Regions from separate parts of the Homo sapiens genome. Here region 2 is linked to region 1. Evidence: promoter capture Hi-C in human tissues and cell types (Jung and others, 2019). All regions are on one chromosome and are shown on one strand. Each heading gives the region's core, a stretch centred on a gene start or on the middle of the fragment in contact. The rest is flanking DNA. Distances are from core to core; before and after follow the strand shown. Region 1 holds the start of BPIFA1 (BPI fold containing family A member 1). Region 2 overlaps BPIFB4 (BPI fold containing family B member 4).

Evidence for each region. The method cuts DNA at HindIII sites, captures the fragments that hold promoters and counts their contacts. A contact is called where the count stands out against the background at its distance.
Region 2: a fragment that was not itself captured here is called in contact with the fragment with the promoter of BPIFA1 in region 1 in 1 of the 25 tissues and cell types used here (mesendoderm cells).

The regions. Positions count from the first base shown.
Region 1 is chr20:33,231,738-33,238,688 of GRCh38, forward strand. It overlaps BPIFA1 (BPI fold containing family A member 1), which reads left to right and starts at 4,259. Exons shown (of 9, transcript NM_130852.3): 1 at 4,259-4,313; 2 at 5,960-6,134; 3 at 6,318-6,477. The coding sequence starts at 5,975. The HindIII fragment of the contact is 6,820 bases long and covers 1-6,595 here.
Region 2 is chr20:33,102,440-33,109,390 of GRCh38, forward strand. It overlaps BPIFB4 (BPI fold containing family B member 4), which reads left to right. Exons shown (of 18, transcript NM_182519.3): 15 at 533-575; 16 at 2,371-2,434; 17 at 5,305-5,381. Among named protein-coding and RNA genes, the nearest start is that of BPIFB4, 26 kb to the left of the region's middle. The HindIII fragment of the contact is 8,468 bases long and covers 1-6,618 here.

The DNA of each region.
Region 1 (6,951 bases), core at 3,009-5,508:
TGATGCAAACTTGCACTTGAAGTAAGAGCACTGAAGCCCCAGATGACAGTCTGACTTCACCTCTTCCCAGCTGAGATGACCCTGTGCAGGTCACAGCCCTCCTTGAACCTCAGTTTCCCCACAGGCTTGTTACAGGTGGCATAAAGCTCTAGTGTCTCACAAAAGGTTATCATTAGTAGTAGTATTTTTTTTTTTGCACTTTAAAAGCAAGTGCAAAGATTAATCTCAAAAGCAAGGGGAGCTTGCCTGAAGCAAACCCTACTTGAGAATATATATTTTTTTCATCTAAGTTGGGGTTTCTGGCTCTCTGGGAATGCTCTGGAGCTTCCAAGGCCATCTGAAGACCCTCTGCAACTCAGTCCCCACGCTGACCTTTCTCCTGGGGAGGAGATCCTGCATCCCATTCTCACATTCTGGAGAACAGACCTTGCATAGGTCAGAGCCCTTTGAAAAATCAAACCAATTCTGCCCTTTAGAAATGGATCTTTTTTTTTTTTTTTTTTTTGAGACAGAGCCTCACTCTGTCACCCAGACTGGAATGCAGCGGCATGATCTTGGCTCACTGCAACCTCCGCCTCCCAGGCTCAAGCAGTTCTCCTGCCTCAGCCTACCAAGTAGCTGGGTTTACAGGTGCGCACCACTAATGCCCAGCTAATTTTTGTATTTTTAGTAGAGATGGGATTTCACCATGTTGGCCAGGCTGGTCTTGAACTCCCGACCTCAAATGATCCACCTGCCTGGGCCTCCCAAAGTGCTGAGATTACAGATGTGAGCCACCACACCCGGCCAGAAATGGATCTCTTGATTGACAAAACAACCTGAGCAAAGGCTCCCAAACACAATTGCAACCTGAGAAGCAGGAAGGAAAGGCACCACCTACAGTTTCTGAGAAACACATGGAGAGGGTATTGACATCACCAGAGTGGGGAAAACCTCTTGAAATGTTCGTGGTGTGTCCTTCCACTTGTTTCCTGGTGCCCTGAGACCTTTCCCCTGTTCAGGGCAGGGAGCATGCAGTCCCTGTGGCCACAAGGAAGGGCAGTTTCAACAGAAGCAGAAACAAGGCTCTTGACTTTCAAGAGCCTGGGTTTTTGATAAAGTGGTAGTGACAGAGAACAAACAGGTGGTTGCCAGCAGATGAAGGCAGGGTGTGGCTGTAAAGGGACCCATGAGAGTGCCTTTGGGGGGATGGAACTGTTCTTTACCCTGATTATGATGGTGGCTGACTATACATGTGGTAAGACTCAAAGGACCATACCACTAAAAGAAGTCAATTTTACTGTAAGTTTTTTTGTTTTTATAGTCTTGGCTTTTGACTTGTTAAACTCAGGGCATAGGAGAGTCTGAGAACAGCATACACACAATGAAGTTGAAGCAAATCTTCCTGCCCACAAAACTAGAAAATGCCCTATGTTGGGTTGGTGAAGTGTGAGGGTCCAGGAGAACTGGAAGGAGCATAGTTCTGGTGGGTTCTGATGGTGCCTCCGTCCCTTGCTGCTCCCAGGCAGACCTGAGCATGGGATGAAGGGAACAGAATCCCAGGCACATGTATGGGATCCAGGGACAGAGGGCGTCTGTGTCCACACTCCCTCCCAGAGCCAGAAGAGGGCATGAGACCCCAGGGAGAGAAGGGTAAAGGGAGGGTCTAGGTGGATCCAGGCAGGAGGGCTTGGGCAGCCCCTCACAGTCCTGTATCAGGCCCAAGGAACTGGCGAACAGCAGAACAATTCTGTGTCTTACAAACGAGTTGAAAGTAAATGCTAAATCCAAAGGGACCTTTCACCAGGAGGGAAGTACAGTGTCTCTGCAATCTAGGGGCAGATGGCACATGGCTGTCTCCTATATTGCCAGCCAAAAATAGGGACAGGCAGCCTCCTTGGTACAAACAAAGCCCCTAGCACAGACATGAAACCCCAGGGGGAAATTGGGACATTTCTGTTCCTGAGCAAAATGGCATTTGAAATGGTAAAGTATAGATAAATCAGAAAGATGTGTGGACGCCTGAGTTTATGAACTGTGATTCATACCAGCTCCCCAGACATCATCTCCCCATAGCCCTGTGAGGCAGATTTTATGCTCCCCATTTTACAGGTGAGGAAACTGAATGAAGTTCAGGGAACTGGACTGACTTGCCCAGGGTCGTAGGATTTGAACCAGGGCTGTTTGAGCCCAAATTCACCCACTTTCTGCTGCAATACAGACACAGCCTCCCGGCCTCAAACCAGAGGGTGTAAGCTTTCATTAACTGGCTGCACAAACTCTACTAATTCCTTGCCTTATCTGCCTCAGTTTCCCCACAAGGATAGTAGCAACCTGACCCAACCCACAAGAGTTATACGATGGGACCACTGTGAGGATGATTGCCATGTACAAGATGTGGGCAGAGTCCAGCAAGTACCTTGAATGGATAATTAAGTTCAAAGCCATGGCCCCAAACCCTTGGGGGCACCACCCAGACTCTGGAGAGCAGTGGAGCAGGCCAGTGAAGGCCTAGTGTGAGGGAGGCAGTGTGGCCCACTGATTAGCAGGGACTCAGACAGACACAGAGGGTGGCAGGGTCAATTGACTCCAACACTCACTCGCTGTGTGTCCCCAGGAAGCAGTCACCCTTTCTGATCCTCAGCCTCCTCATCCAATGTATGAGAGACAACAATACCAACCACTCCTGAAGAAGATGAGGTTCAAATATGGAGAGCACCTGGCATGCAGTCAGTGCTTAATAAAAGCACATTTATTCCTTCTCTCTCCACTTTTGCTTATAAGGTGTTAGGTTTTGCAGGGTAAGAGCTGCGCTCACTGGTCCAGGACCTTGGCCTTCCTGTGTCTTCACTTTTTCATCTGCTGAACAGACTCCAAGGGCCCCAGTGGTGGGGATAAATAAATGCCTGATTACTCCATTTAGGGAAAGGTAGAAGAAAGGGTAGGATAGAGACCAGGATGCCAAAGGATCCCTCAGGCCTGGGAACCTGGAAAGACTTTTCCAGGACCTAAAAGAGAAGCGGCGGGGCACTGTGGCTCACGCCTGTAATCCCAGCACTTTGGGAGGCTGAGATAGGTGGATCACCTGAGGTCAGGAGTTCGAGGACAGCCTGGCCAACATGGTGAAACCCCATCTCTACTAAAAATACAAAAACTTTGCCAGGCATGGTGGCGCTCGCCTGTAGTCCCAGCTGCTCAGGAGGCTGAGGCAGGAGAATCACTTGAACCCGGGAGGTGGAGGTTGTCATGAGCTGAGATCACACCACTGCACTCTAGCCTGGGCGACAGAGTAAGACTGTCTCAAAAAATAAAATAAAATAAAAATTAAGTGAAAATTTAAAAAATAAAAAGGGACGCATGAAAGTGTAAAGTTCACAGGTGGGGAAATCAAAATGGCCAGCAAGTGTTGGGAGGCACCTTCATCTCTCAGTGCAGTGATTCGGGGAAAGGACCTGAATGTGGATGTCTCACCCCAGGCAAGCACTGCATCTCTGGACAACTTGCCTCACACTCAGCCTCAGTTTCCCCCTTATAGAATAGGAGTACAGGGTTGTGAGGATTTTGTGAGATGCTGCCTGTGAACACCATGGCAGGCCAGGCATACAGCAGGAGCTCGGCCAGTGTCTGCTGTTGGCGTTGTTTTTGTTGTTTTCATTCTCCAGTCAGTTGCATTCTAACTCTGCTGCATCCTCTCTGGGTCTTTCAGCACTTGTCCCCACTGGATCTCAGTTTCCTCCTCTATAAAAGAGGAGGAGTCACCTCTCCCTCTCAGGGTTCTTGTGAGGACAGAGAGCTCCTGACGTGCAATAGGGGCTCTGAAAACAGGAGACCCTTGCCCTGGAATGGAGACGCACCCCAGATGTAGGATGCAGTGTGACTCTTTTGACATTTTAGGAGAAAGAATCCTCCAACTGGAGCAAAAAAATTAGAGCAGGAGAGGAAAGGGGCCAAGAGATGAGACTGAGGTCCCTTCCTGGGCTCTGTCTGGCTGCTCCTTTCAATGCTCCAAGCTACCTTGGGAGCGTGGGTCCCCAACCTTGGCTCCGCTCAGGAAACCATAAAGTCTTGAGTAACATCCCATCTCAGGTTTTTCTCTGTTTATCTTGTTGACCAAATAGCTTAACTGTCTCACCTGCTAATGTGATTGGCAATTATTTACTTTGGAGAGCCCTGAAAGACACTGTCAGATTGCAGAATTCTCAATTATCTAGAAACCCATCACCCAACACATGCTTCCTCGTCCCCATACTATAAAAGAGGCTGACTCCTCGGCAGAAGTGAGTGGGGGAGAGAGAGGAGACCAGGACAGCTGCTGAGACCTCTAAGAAGTCCAGGTAAGAGCCATCCATTCTGTGGCCCCTCTGCTACCCTTAACGGCAGGGATCTCAGGCTCCTGCCCTGTGGGGCAGTGAGTGATCTTGATCACTCACTGGGGGCTGTGCAAGAGAAACAGACCTGGCCAATGTCAGGGATGTGGGGATGGCCATTTGCTCTGCTGTCCTAAGAGACCAGTAACATTGATATAGAAATGGGCACTATTAATGCCGTAAATGAAAGCCTCTAAGGCATAAGTTTTAGCTTGAGGTTACCAATGTGGATACAGATGATCCAAAAACCTCCTAAAATTCTTCACCCAATTTTATACATTTTGATGCATTTTTTCTGAGACTAGGATCTTTAGCTTCCATTGGATTCATAAAGGGTCTGTTGCCCAAAAGAGATTCAGAGGCTGTGGTCAAAGTTACCTCCCTAAGAAGGGCACAACTGGCTCTTTGGACCAAAGACCTTTCATTTCCAGCCTTCCACCACAAGGATGGAGCTTTAGCTGAGTCAGCCAATAGATGGAATTTTGCACAAAGTCACCAGTTGTCTCCAAATTGTAGGTACTAGTGCTGGCTCTGGACAACTCTGCTGGCTGCCAAATAGACCTGTGAGAGGTCTGCAAGCCAAACCTCAGGGGTTGACCGGAATTCCATCCAGGGCAGCTTGAAGGAGAAGAGAAAGGTGTCAAAATGATAGAATGCATGTTTGTGTGTTGGGTGAGGGGAGGGTTGGGAGACCTGCCTTCAACCACAGCTCTGCCATCAATTTATTGTATGACCTTGGGAAAGTCACTACCCCTCTTTGGTCTCCTGGTTCTTCTCATGCAATGAAGACTTTGATGGCCCCAGGAATTCCCCAACAAAGGTCTACATGAGATGGTGGCTGTGGCCATGCGACCCCTGTATTGTGTGACTTTCAAGGGCATCCACCAACCATCATGGCCTGAGCTCAGGCCAAAGGACTGAACAGGGATGATCTAAAACAGTTCAATTCTTCAGCACTTGCACGTTTAACCCTTCTCATTTGCTTTGTCTGAAGAGCAGCAATGATTCAAACCATTGAAGCAAGCCCGATTGGAGAATAAATCTGATGGTTACTTAATTTAACCGAGGGTTCACCTGGCTCTAGCTTCTAATCCTCTGTCCACCGTGTACTTGTGACCTTGGGGAAAGTTACCCACACTCGGTAGTACACAAGTGGGTTTCAAGAAGGGATGGGAGTATATTTGAAACTCCCAACTGCAAACTCACTTGACCTCTGTGAGCCTTGGTTTCTCCTACTGGAAAATCAGACAAGTGAACTGTGGGCAAGATGGAGTGAGGTGAGGCTGGGATTCTTGGCAAGAAGGAAAAAAACCCTCTTCTTTGGAATGTGGTGGAGTGGGGCTGTCTCCTTTTTAGGCCCCTGATCAGTGGTCCTCACCTGTGCAATGCAGGTAACAGGTGCCCATGTCTTAGGGTTGTGATGAAGATGAAATTGTGTAAAGTGGTCAGCCTGTTGCCTGGCAAAGAGAAATTGTTCAGCAGTATTAGCTATTACTAGTGACCCCCTGGTGTTCTGGGGAGCAAACAACCCCACCCCCCAGGTGTCAGGGCAGGTGGTGGATAAATTCCTCTCTGATACCCATGCCATGTTGGACTTGTCATTCTGGCCACAGATACTAAGAGCAAAGATGTTTCAAACTGGGGGCCTCATTGTCTTCTACGGGCTGTTAGCCCAGACCATGGCCCAGTTTGGAGGCCTGCCCGTGCCCCTGGACCAGACCCTGCCCTTGAATGTGAATCCAGCCCTGCCCTTGAGTCCCACAGGTCTTGCAGGAAGCTTGACAAATGGTGAGTTTTCAGGGGTGTATGTGTGCATGTGTGTGTGTGTGTGTGTGTGTGTGTGTGTGTGTGTGTGTGTGTGTGTGTGTCCAACCCTGCAAAGTGGGGAGGGACAGGGCTGGATGGGGGAGGGGGCCTGAGGATCTGGAATTGTCAGATCTGACCCCCAGAGACCCTTACACCCATTTCCAGCCCTCAGCAATGGCCTGCTGTCTGGGGGCCTGTTGGGCATTCTGGAAAACCTTCCGCTCCTGGACATCCTGAAGCCTGGAGGAGGTACTTCTGGTGGCCTCCTTGGGGGACTGCTTGGAAAAGTGACGTCAGTGATTCCTGGCCTGAACAACATCATTGAGTGAGTTGTCCTAAAATAGAGCTTTGATCTCCACCAGGGAACCCCAGGTGAAGATCTGCCAGCCCCAGGCAGTGACCCTGAAGCAGCGACCCTGAAGCAGCGAGGGAGCGGCCTGAAGATGGAGCCAGGACTCAGTTCTGAGACCCATCTCCAGTTTGGCAGGGACACCCGTCCTCCCCAAACCAGCAATGCCCTCAGTTCTAGGCATGTCCTGAGGCCCCAGCATCATCTATAATCCTCACCACAACCCTTTGAGGTCGATTTAATAATCTCCAGTTTGCAAATGGGAAAACCAAAGCACAGAGGTGCCTGTGTTCACGCTGCTAGAGTGATGCCAAGTGAGTAAGGCTCTCACTCTACTATCCTAACTCCAAAGCCAAGGCTCTTCCCACTACACTGTGGTCATTTTGTTCTCTGCACCTGTGAAATCCCTTAGAACACAGACGGCCTTTGATGTTAGCGAGAGTATAACCT
Region 2 (6,951 bases), core at 1,135-3,634, 130 kb before region 1:
CCGGCCTCAGCCTCCCATCTCAGAACAGCACAACAGTGAGAGTGCAGGTTCAGGGTGCGAGGCCTAGGCTATCCCTCCCTGGCTCTGTGGCTGCAGTAAATTACCCTGGAGCCTGCTCCACTGGAGGGCTGGAAGGATTACACGAGGTGATGGTGATCACTCATGCACCTATGGCAGGGCTCTGGAGCAGCGCTTTATGGGAATATCCCCTTTAGTCCTAGCAGCCACCCACTTTGCAGATGAAGAAACTGAGGCATAGAAAGGTAAAGTACCTTGACTAAGGTCACAAAGCTAGTAGGTGGCAAAGCTATGATTTGAGCCTTCTCCGTGTGGTGCATGAAGCCCTTAGCATGGTGTCCGACGTGTAGTTAGCGCTCAGCATGTGAGAGCCAGCATTGTTCTTATTAAATCCCTGCAGGTGGAGAGTGATCGTGAGGATAGTGGAGGGGCTTCTCACAATTTGTTGCAATGCAAGAGCCTTATGATTTTCAGGCAATCCCTGCTTCTCACAGGCTGTTTTCTTCGTCTACAGGACCAGCCTCAACCTCAGAACCTCAAACGTGGGCAACTTTGATGTAAGTACCATGTTTAGTTCCCAGGGCAAGATCTTCTGGGAAGGAGCCCAGGACGTGTCTTCCGGGAATGGTGTTCCTGTGAGGCTGGCTGGGCATGGGGAGTTTGTGAATTCCAAAGTGCTCCCGTCAACACTATCAGCCCTCATTTTGCAGATGGACAGATGTAGAAACTGAGGCCCACAAGGCAAGTGAGGGGCAGAGGACAGACTCACAGCTCCTTCTACTCTGCCTCGGGTGCTGTCCCATGTTAACTGGCTGCCCCATGGGGGGCCACTTGGCCCAAATCGCTCCATTTCAGGGTGGGGAGGCACAGTGGGCAGCCTTGTCCTACAGGACCACTTTCCTTCTGGAGTTAGGAGCCCACTGACTCCTGTGTGACCTTGAGCGATATCAACCCACTCTGAGCCTCAGTTTCCCCATCTGTAAAATGAATACAATTTGAGTTCATTTCTAACCTCCCTTCTTGCCCCTGGGTTGTGGAATTCTGCTTTTCCAAGGGTCCAGAAATCTGAGATGCTCACATTCTAGCGTTGGGTCCTGTTTTATCTCTTTGTTCACTCTTGGGTGCCCCACCCCCACCTAAGGCTTCAGAAACACTCCTTCCTCCCCACCCCCCCACCTCCGCTTTTTATAAATTGACAACTAAGCATCTGCTAGCTTTCTGGGACAAGCTTGGATGAGATCTCCACATGTGCAGAAAAAGTCAAACCCATTCATTGTGTTGCTAATTTTATAGCTTTTCTAACCCAAAAAGCTACAGCCTGTGAAGCCGATCTTGCCAGCTTCATTTTATAAGGATAAACTGCCCAAGGCTTCCCAGCTGGTTGGGGCAGAGTTGGGATTAGAACTGAAATCTCTGGACTCCAAGTGAAGAAAGGGGCTGACAGTGTAAAATTAATGAATTAATGAAGCTATCGAGATGGGCCCTAGGCACTGAATTATGCTTTTTTTTCTCTTTTAATGAGGTTTTCTCATTTAATCCTTACCACCGTGTTATGATTTGGGTATTATTATTACACCCATTCTTCCAAATAAGGAAGGTAAGCTCAAGTGACTTGCCCAAGGCAACAGAGCTAGGAAGAGGCACTGCCGGAAAGTGAGTCCATGCCCTCACCCTCTGCAGACTGGAACATCAGGCATGTTACATATAGGGGCTTATGTCTGATTTTTATAACCACCCTATGAGGCAAGGGTTACTCACTCCTGTTTTCAGATGTGGAAACCAAGGCTTAGAGAAGTTAAGGGAGGTAACATATGAAAAGGCTCAAGGCCAGGAGTTTTACGTGATCTACCCACCATCCTCACCGCATCCTTGCAAACTCAGCTCACTGACCCATTTTACAGCTGAGGAAGCTGAGGGTTAGAGAGGTGAAGGAGCCTGCCCAGAGGCCCACGGAGACTGAGCTGGGATGGGAACCTGGGGTGTTGGCTCCAGGGCCATTGGGACTTCTGTGATGCCATGACAGTGCCATCGGGGCCAGGCCACCCTGAAACCTGTGCTCTGTGCCTCCCAGGGGAGGAACTAGGCCTCCCTCAATCCCTGCTTCATAGGGGCCTTGGGCCACCACCCATGCTGGGCCTCAGTCTGCCCATCTGCACAATGTGCAAGTTGATGGGGGGCACCTTAAGGCTGCCGGTGAGAAATTCTGGGGTCTCAGGGGTTCTGACTGCCAGAACCTAGACTCTCCCAGAGCAGGTCTGTGTCTCCACCTTGAGCCAGGGGAGCAGACCCAAGGGGCCCTCTGGAGCTGAGCAAACCCCCTGCCCAGGCTCTGTCCTCCTTCTTCCTCTGCAGATTGGCCTCATGGAGGTGCTGGTGGAGAAGATTTTTGACCTGGCATTCATGCCCGCAATGAACGGTGAGAGCGGGTGCCTGTGCCTCTCTGGGAGCTTGTGGCTTGGGTACTGGGGGATACTGGCTTGTTGGGCATGCTGGATGTGCATCTATCCTACCTCAATAGTATTTCTGAGCACTTCCTTTGAAGCGTGTCGATGAAAGCCTCCAAATCCAAACGTGGCCCCCAAAGTTCCAGCACCTTCCTTATTTGCTTCTTTCTTGTTTGGCTGATTGTTTTATTTTTCTGATTATCTATGAAAATTCCGATTATGTATTAACATTGTGTGTGTGCAAGTTTTAGAAAATATAAAACAATTTAAAAAAAACTCACCTCGCAGAGGCAATGAATCTCAACATCTGAGCATATTTCCTTCTAAACTCTTTTTCTCCATTGTTTTCCCATATGATTGAGATCTTTCCTGACTCATATTTAAACATGTATTTATTTTTAATGATACAGGAACTACAGGAATACATTCTTATTGTGAAAAGTTCCATTGGCGCAGATACAGCTAAAGTTGCTCTTATCGACATCCCCAGCCTCCTTCCTAGCCCAGAATCTGCCCCCCTAGGGAACCACATCAAGTTAGGAGGTTTTCTTGCCCAACTTTATAAACAGAGTAGACTGAGCTTGCTTTGCTCTCTGGGGCGTCTCAGGAATGTTACTGGGAAGGCTGCTTGTTGAACTATGGGGGTCATTGGCTACTCACATACTGGGACTGGGAAACTGCCCAAGCCCTGGGGTCACTGGGCCCCAGACTCTCTCCCACTCCTGCTTCCTGGATGAGAAGACAAGGAGGGCTGGCACATCCCAGCCAATGTCATCAGCTACACCAGCGGGGGTTCTGTTGGAGCCATCTTGATGTCAAACAAACCCTTGTTCTGGGCCCTGTGGTCAGAGGAAGCCGAGTCTCACTGGTGGGGAAAGTGGTGGTTTCTCTGTGAGAGGATGGGGTCAGGGGCTGGGCTGGGCTGACCTGGGAGGGAAGAGACGGAGCGTCTTGCCTGGCTTAATCACTAAGAGTGGTGTGAACTTGGGGGCGAGTCTTTTAATCATACTGAAGTGCAATTCACCATTTTCAAAATGAGAGCTTGGACAAGGTCCATAGTCCCCAAAGTGAGCTCCGTAAAGCAGTCCCACAAAATACCCTGCAAAAAGCGTTCCATGGCCGAGCAAGTTTGGGAAGTGCTGAAGATACTCCTGCAGGGTAGATTCACAATGTCCTTAGCTTTTTGAAAAGTCCTGCTGGAATAGAGAAGTCTGTTAAATTTCACTTAATTTACTTCCCCCATCCACTCTTTCCTACCCCACTTCTTTTTCTCTCTTCCTGCTCTCTTTCTAGAACAGTAATTAGCAGGTTTACTTAGGCTCTGACAATCTGAAAACAAACAGCACATCCCACGGCAGAGTCAATGGCTAGGGCTCCACGTGCACTTTCCATTACTTCACTCGGCAAACATTTGCCATCTCCTCTATGACTGGGCGAAGGGCTGGGTGATGCTGGGGACACAGCTCTTTTCTTTCTTTTTTTTTTTTTTGAGATGGAGTCTCACTCTGTGGCCCAGGCTAGAGTACAGTGGCACGATCTCGGCTCACTGCAACCTCTGCCTCCCAGGTTCAAGAGACTCCCCTGCCTCAGCCTCCCGAGTACCTGGGATTACAGCTGTGCACCACCACACCCAGCTAATTTTTGTATTTTTAGTAGAGATGGGTTTTTGCCATGTTGGCCAGGCTGGTCTCAAACTCCTGACCTCAAGTGATCCACCCACCTTGGCCTCCCAAGGGGACATAGTTCTTGCCTTCAGGGAACTCACAATGTGGTGGGCGTGACAGATACAGAAACAGATAATTAATATTTTATGGTTTCTCTAATAGAGCAGTTCGGAGGTGGGATGGGGGTGCTGCAGGAGCCTTGAGTCGTTTGGGGTCCAGAAAACCTTGCAGAGGAGGTAACATCTGAACAGTCTCAGAGAGGGCTCAGAACTCACCAGGGATGCTAGGGTGAGAGAATGTGCACCAGGCAGGAGGAACTGCAAGGACAAAGGCCTAGAGGCATAAAAGAAATTGCCAGGGCCGGGCACAGTAGCTCAAGCCTGTAATCCCAACACTTTGGGAGGCCAAGGCGGGTGGAGCACGAGGTCAGGAGTTCAAGACCAGCCTGACCAATATGGTGAAACCCCATCTCTACTAAAAACACAAAAATTAGCTGGGCGTGGTGGCGCACGCCTGTAGTCCCAGTTACTCAGGAGGCTGAGGCAAGAAAATCATTTGAACCCAGGAGGTGGATGTTGCAGTGAGCTGAGATCGTGCCTCTGCGCTCCAGCTGGGGCAACAGAGCAAGACTCAGTTAAAAAAAAAAATGAAAGAAAGAAGGAAGGAAGGAAGGAAAGAAAAGAAAAGAAAAGAAGAGAAAAGAGAAAAGGGAAAAGAAAAGAAAAAGAAAAAGAAATTGCCAGGTGTGGGCACCATGGCTCACACCTGTAATCTCAGTACTTTGGGAGGCCGAGGTGGGGGCAGATCATCTGAGGTCAGGAGTTCAAAATCAGCCTGGCCAACATAGTGAAACCCTGTCTTTACTAAAACAAACAAAACAAACAAACAAAAAACAAAACAAACAAACAAACAAAAAAAGCAAAAATTAGGCATGTTGGCATGTGCCTATAATCCCAGCTACTTGGGAGGCTGAGGCAGGAGAATCACTTGAACCTGGGAGGTGGAGGTTGCAATGAGCCGAGATTGTGCCACTGCACTCCAGCCTGGGCAACAGAGCGAGACTCTGTCTCAAAAAAAGAAAAAAGAAATTGCCAATCTTCTTACAAATACTGGCGGCTTCTGGTGAGACCAACACCTCTTGGACCACTGACCATGTCTGACTGTTTTTTATTTTACAGCTGTGCTGGGTTCTGGCGTCCCTCTCCCCAAAATCCTCAACATCGACTTTAGCAATGCAGACATTGACGTGTTGGAGGTAAGAGGAGATCGAGCTCCATTCTGCTTTTCCTCCCTGCCCTTTGCTCATCACCTTTGACCACTGCATTCAGGCCAGGAACTTGGAAGAGGAAGAGAAGAGGAGGGAAGGGGAGGAAACAGGGTCCTCTTCCTTCCAAGCATGGGGCTGAGGGAACAAGGAGCAGAGCTGTTAAGGATCCTTGAAGACACTCTCCCATTCAGTCTCATTTAGCCCTCACCACAGGTGTCATTGTTGCCATCTTACAGATGTGAGAACTGAGGCTCACAGCAGTAAGGGGCTTGCCCAAAATGGAATGTGGTATAGTTCATTGGAGCAACTTTTATTGAGCACCTACTGTGTGCCAGGCACTATGCAGGGGCCTGGGGATCCAGCAGTGAACAAGGACAACCCTGGCCCTTGCAAAGCTCTCTTAGCCCAATGGGGAGATGGCCTTTTGGTAAATATTCCCGAAGTAATTGGCTAATTATAATCATGGCAGGTGCTTTGAAGTTCACATGCAGGGGTTCTTGTTTCCACTATAAAAACCACCCGTGCTCAATATCTGAAATTTGGAAAATATGGAAAAGATTAAAAAAAAGTATGCATCCATATATATATGTCTATATATATATATAGACATATATACAATCCAGCAATTCCCCCTGAGAACATTTTGCTGCTTTTCATTCCAGTCTTTCTGAAGTTTTATTTTTAAACATGGCTTTGCTCAGGGAATCAGTAGAGCATTGGGGTTAAAGAACGAGGGCTTGGAGCCCAGTGACCCCAGTTCAAATCCTAACTCTGCCAGTTTCCAGCTGGGTAACCTCTCCAAGCCTCCATTTATTTCCTCTATAAAAAGGGGCTAATCATACTACCTACCCATAGGGCTGCTTTTAGGAGAAAATGGGATTCTGTGTGTAACGTGCCTTGCACAGGCCTGGCACATAATAAGCACTTCTGGAAGTGTCCACCATTATAAATACCATCACTGTAATAAAGGATGCTGCAGTGAACATCTCAATGCATAAACTGTTTCTTGATTCTAGATTTAGTTCCTTGGAACAAATTCCCAGAAATGGAATGAATGGGGCCTTTGTGCCAGATTGACAATTTCCTTGCCGAAGGAAATTGCCCCCTCACATTTGCCCCTCACATTCATGACAGGCTCAGACCCAGGGAACAGCCCCCTTCCCACATTAGGGAGTCAGTCAAGGGAGGTGGACAATGACCTTGGATGGGCAGTGTGGGCAGGGGTCAGATGCTGGCTCTGGGACAGTCCCCTGCCTTGGCCCAGTCTCTTGAGATCCTGTAGGACCTCGGCACTGCTTTGAGCCTCAGTTTTCTCATCTGAAAATGGGGAACGATAATGGCCACCTCATACAGTTTGTGGTGAGAAATTAAACGAGATACAGCATTTTATTATAAAATGTTATTATTCACTTCAACAAAGGGGTTAGGAAACACGAACAGGATTGGCACAGGTTTATCTTCATCATCATCATCATCATCATCTCTACTATTTACTGAGATGTTCAGTGCCCCATACATAGTCTTTCATGGACTTGGCCTTACCACATGACCTTTCATG